Regions from separate parts of the Homo sapiens genome. Here region 2 is linked to region 1. The links are contacts of gene promoters, found by promoter capture Hi-C in blood cells and fetal thymus (Javierre and others, 2016). All regions are on one chromosome and are shown on one strand. Each heading gives the region's core, a stretch centred on a gene start or on the middle of the fragment in contact. The rest is flanking DNA. Distances are from core to core; before and after follow the strand shown.

Evidence for each region. The method cuts DNA at HindIII sites, captures the fragments that hold promoters and counts their contacts. A CHiCAGO score of 5 or more calls a contact.
Region 2: a fragment that was not itself captured here is called in contact with the fragment with the promoter of ATRX in region 1 in 1 of 17 cell types (total B cells); the score reaches 6.0 in total B cells.

The regions. Positions count from the first base shown.
Region 1 is chrX:77,784,922-77,787,621 of GRCh38, forward strand. ATRX (ATRX chromatin remodeler) reads right to left here and starts at 1,295. Exons shown (of 35, transcript NM_000489.6): 1 at 1,061-1,295. The coding sequence starts at 1,080. RefSeq lists a silencer at 909-958 and enhancers at 1,059-1,168, 1,179-1,368. The HindIII fragment of the contact is 7,766 bases long and covers 1-2,107 here.
Region 2 is chrX:80,805,501-80,808,266 of GRCh38, forward strand. All of the region lies in intron 4 of BRWD3 (bromodomain and WD repeat domain containing 3), which reads right to left. Among named protein-coding and RNA genes, the nearest start is that of BRWD3, 3.0 kb to the right of the region's middle. The HindIII fragment of the contact is 274 bases long and covers 1,187-1,460 here.

The DNA of each region.
Region 1 (2,700 bases), core at 45-2,544:
GGATGCATCTCCGAGTAAAAAAATTACTTAATTCACATTGTGGGATGAAAATTCAAATGTCAAACTGAAACGCCAGCCAGCCACCTGGGTAAAAGTGTATACATTTCATATTGACTACCCAAATTTTCAGACCCGTCAAGAGGCAAATCAGAAGCACACAGAAAAACAGCTTCAACCTAATAAACGTGCTTGATTGGTTAAGAGGAGGCCTGCCAGGCATTTTCCCTTGCAATAAATCTTACTTCGCATCAGCCCACGTTAACCTGCCCTTCATCCTTCATGGAATAAATAAGTAAATAAAGATAGGGCCTAATTACTCCTCGAAATTTGCCCAGAAAGTGGGGAAACACTTGAGGTCCCATTAAGGCTGGACATCACAAAAAGTAGTATACTAGGGTCCTCTGGAAGCAAAACCCTGTGTTAAGTCCCCCCTCGCCTAGAAATAAACCCAAGGATATCCTTCAGGATATGGAGTAGAAAAGATACCTAAATACCTGGAACTGCACCACAACCCAATCAAAAAAAGGCTTGTCTCCTGGGGCTGCAGAAAAAAAATCCCGCAGGGCCCGGGTGCTTCCCATCTCCAGCAACCTAAACGCCTCTAAGTCGTCCTGGGATCTCACATCCTCGCGCCCGCCCACCCCTCCCCCTCTTCTCACCCTCCCCCCGCTTCTTCCCCACGCAGTTTCTAGGCCCAAAGATTAGCAAAAATGACCGGGATACCAAAGACCGCCTCCGACTTCGAGGTCTCAATCCCACAGGCACCAAAGAATAAACAGAGGAGCCCGACCAAGCGTCACCGTTTAGGGGAGATTGCAAGAAGCGCCCCATACCCTAGGCCGCGCCCCCCCCACCTCCCCCCACCCCATCCCCACCCCCACCCCCGTCGGAGCCTTGCGCCGATACCCCGAAACCCTTCTCACCTAAAGAGAAAACGATGCCTCTTTCGGCTAAGCAACACACAGGCCTAACCCACCAAGCGAACGCCTTCCCAAACACCCGACTCAGACGGTGCCTGGGCCCAGACCGCTGGGGCCCATGAGACGGGGTTGCGTTTTACCTCATGGGCTCAGCGGTCATGTTTTCGCTTGAACGCCTTGTCGGCTTCTGTGATTGCTGGGCGCCGATCTGCGCTCCCCCGCGCCCGGTTACGATAGAAATGCACTGGAGTCTTAGTCGTCACTGTAGCTGCTGCTGGAACCTCCCCACAGCTCAAAGGCCGCTACCACTGCCACCGCCGCAGGAGCCGCGGAAACAAAGCGACACCGCTGCCGCCGCCATTTTGTTGGGCCGAGGCTCAGGCAGGAGAATTGGCGCGTCCTCCCTCTTTCTCTTTCCGTCAGCCATTGGCTACCTCCTCCAAAGCACAGAGTCTTATTGGCTACGGAAATTCACCTTCTTTGGGGGCCTGTTGCTAAGGCGGTCGACGTCATTTGATCCCCTCCACCTTTTCGCAGGGGGTCCAATTTAGTCCCAATTGACCTGAAAGTGCTAGTGACATAGTTTGACTTTATTTTGAAAATGCTCTTTTGGTCCAACCTCTTTTTTCTTTGACATATTAACGAAGTAATAACAGCAACCTACATTTATTGAGAGTTTACTATATGCTCGGCACTACACTAATCCTTTATCCGGGTTATCTCATTTAATCTTTACACTCTCTGAGGTAGACAAACCTACATTTTCCAGATGAGGAAACCAAGACACAAAGTCCCACAGTAGTGGAGCCGAGATTCACCAGACACTCTTAACCACTAATCTGTATGGCCATCCTATGTAAGTATTTTCTTTCCTATATGCTAGGCTATCATCAAGTTATTTGCTTTCCTAGATGTTTTATACATAATATTTGGCACACCAACATGCTTGGAAATGTATATGTGTATAATATACTTATATATATGTATATGTGTGCAGACGACATAAGACCAACTTGAACGCTGCATAAAATTCTTTCCATATTGAATAAAGTGTCTCTTAGAATACACACACACACACACACACACACACACACACACACACACACACGGGCCATTTCCCCAATTTGATGTGATGTTTAGCTCACAAACCAATCAATTTAGATCTGCTTCCTTCTCATTACAGAGGAAGCTTGGCTGGATGATCTGTAAATGCCTTTCCCGCTTTTATGATCTATAATTTGATTTTACATTGGTAATCTCTGCTAATCACAAACAAGTCCTCTAAAATCTAATCGCTTCGAAATTTATTTCCAAATTTATTCTGCCATGCATGCTTTAGTTCATTCTATTTATTTTTCTTGAAATATGCAAGAGCTCCTGTCGGGGTTAGGTGACAGGGTTGCTGCTTTCTACTGGGATAGCAAGAGGGGAGCCTTTTTTGAATGAAACACTTTGAAAATCTGATAGGCTCAGGCAACTTTTTTTTTTTTTTTTTCTGAGACAGGGTCTAGCTCTGTCACCCAGGCTGGAGTGCAGTGGCGTGACGCAGTTCACTGCAGCCTCGACCTCCTAGGCTCAAGCAATCCTCCCACCTCAGCCTCTCAAGCAGCTGGGACTGCAGGCGCGTGCCATCAAGCCCAGCTAATTATGTATTTATGTATTGGTATAGATGAGGTAGGTCTGTCTGTTGCCCAGGCTGGTCTCAAACATCTAAGCTCAAGCCATCCTCCAACCTCGACCTCCCAAAGTGCTGGAGTTACAGGGGTGAGCCACCGCGCCT
Region 2 (2,766 bases), core at 74-2,573, 3.0 Mb after region 1:
TGTAATGCTGCTATATAATGTAATATTCCAGGTAAATCAAGATGATACTATTAATACTTTGCCCTAAATTTCAATCCAAAACATGCAGCTAAATCAAAGACCACACTTTATAAATCTATCATTCCAATAACAATTTAAAAAATACCTACCCCAGGCCGGGCGCGGTGGCTCATGCCTGTAATCCCAGCACTTTGGGAGGCTGAGGTTTACGAATCACGAGGTCAAGAAATCGAGACCATCCTGGCCAACATGGCGAAACCCCGTCTCTACTAAAAAATACAAAAATTAGCTGGGCGTGGTGGCGCGTGCCTGTAGTCCCAGCTACTTGGGAGGCTGAAGCAGGAGAATCGCTTGAACCTGGGAGGCGGAGGTTGCAGTGAGCCGAGATCCCGCCACTGCACTCCAGCCTGGCAATAGAGCGAGACTCCCTCTCAAAAAAAAGAAAAAAACAAAAACACCTACCCCAAGAAAAAGTATCCCATCTCTTCTACAATGCAGCCACTCAAAATCAGGTCATATGTGAAATAATTTTAATCAAAAATATTACTGACAAACTTAGCAATCAAACCAACACTGCACATTCACTTCTCAGCCACTACACTTCTGTTCAAATTATCACTCAACCCTGCCCATCTTCTCTTACAAAGAAGTCCATAGGTAGAGAACAGACATGTAAAAGAAAACCATGGTATCTAAACTATAATGTTCAAACAACAGAACAAACTCTGTGTACGTAAAAAAAATAGAAAATATAAAAACAGAAAAGAATATTTAAAAGATACGTTAAAATTGAGTATATGTAAGAATTAACAATTTTATTTAATTCCTTAAAGGTTAAGCCTCACTAGTAATGAAAAAAAAAGAGCTACTTAAGTCAACCAGGAGCTATTGCCATCTATTAAATATTAAAGAAACTGAATGATTTAAAGCTATTAAAAAACTCACTCTAAATACCTAGATGATGACATTATAAATTAGTACAATCTTCTGGAGAGCAAACAATATATGACAAGAGCTATAAAACTCATGAGACCCTTTGACCTGGTAACTCCACTTTAGGGAATAAAGTCCAGGAAAATAACTGGGGGCAGAAGGGATAGGGGAGAAAGTAAAAAGCAGAAAAAGACCACCTAACTATGCAAAGTTATTAGTAAAAATCTGGAAGTAGCTCAAATGCTCAACTGGAAGCTTGGTTCAAATCATATCGTACCTTAAATACAACTGAATTTTTTCTTACCATTAAAATAATGATGACTATTCAAATACACAAGTACATTTTTAAATGTTAAGAAAAATATGAAGCATAAAATGGACACTGATCACAATTATGTAAAAATGTCTTTACAATATGAGGAAAAGTCTAGTAAACTGGGTTGTTGGGGTTTTTTTGGTGAGGAGACTATTTTTTAATTACTTTGATTTTCATTTCCTTTTTATCACTGTCAAGTTAGTTTCAAAAAAGCTTTTTCCTTTTAATCTCCTTTGCCACTTGCTTAAAATAACACATATAGGCTGTGAGAAGGACAAATGTAAAGGAAAACATTTTCAATACACCTCAGTATTAAAACTATATATAAAAACCTGTATCAGTCATTAAGTGTTAAAACATATTAGTAGGCACTGTTGTTTTTGCCTCTTTTAGGGGGAGGGAAAGACTTAAGTCCAACAGAAAGACTGACTACAAATTAACCTGGCAGTACATGAAGTTTTTCAAAACTAATTTTTCTCCATCTGAGAAATTGTTACTATTAATAATACAGATGGTCGAGTTTACCCTTATCACAATTATACCATTTTCTGTGATTTGCAAAATATAAGAAAACTATACAGTCGGTAGACTTGATAATAATAATGTGGCCTCACTGTTGTAAGATAACACAAACAAAAATAACAAAATGAACATTGAAGCAATTTAAATATAGTCTTATTGCAAGCAAATTTTAAATCATTTATATTTAGAGTCTATCATACACCGCCAACTTTCTTTAACTTTGTCCGATTTTCCTCCACTTGGATCTTACTTGAAGGAAAGATAGCTGAATTTAGATTTTAGTAACATCATTCCTTTCTCCTTTCACTACCCTCCAATGCACTGTGGCAGCAGCTAACACAAGGGAACCTCCCCCGCAAAATAAAAAGGATCACCTGTTTTTGTGTGTCAATGCTGAACACAAGGTACATTTATACTATGAATTATATTTGCAGGAGAAACAACATAGACCAATGCCTTTGGTCCTTCACTAAAGTATATTCCATTTTTAAATATGTCCATTGTTGTCTCCTTGTAAACCCAAAATCGTGTTTCACCAATTCTCAAAAAGTGATAACTCAGTTTCTATTTAGTGAAAACGGGTCTATGCAAATGCGACTTAACTGATAATTGAATGAGCTTATAAAATCGGAGATACGTAACGATTATGCTTTTACTCAGTAGACCATTACCTAACCGGCAAAATTTGAAATTGGCTTGACGCTCCTTATTATTTTTAATTATGTCGTTTTTCCTAATCCCTGGTCCGTCAATTCCCCTCCAGAGCCCCTTCCTCCCACGCCTCCCCCCTGCCCCCCCGCCCCCCCCAAAAAAGACCAAGCCTGGCCTTAGTTCCCGTATTTCAGGCCAGGACCAACCAGAAACCAGTTTTCTTCCACTAATCCGGAACTCCGGGCTGTTACCAACGCTGTCATTGGCCAGCGTCAGACCTTAGTACGTGCCCCAAGATAACCCCTTGGTTTCTCTCCCTTTTCCGCCTACAATGGGCCTTCCCC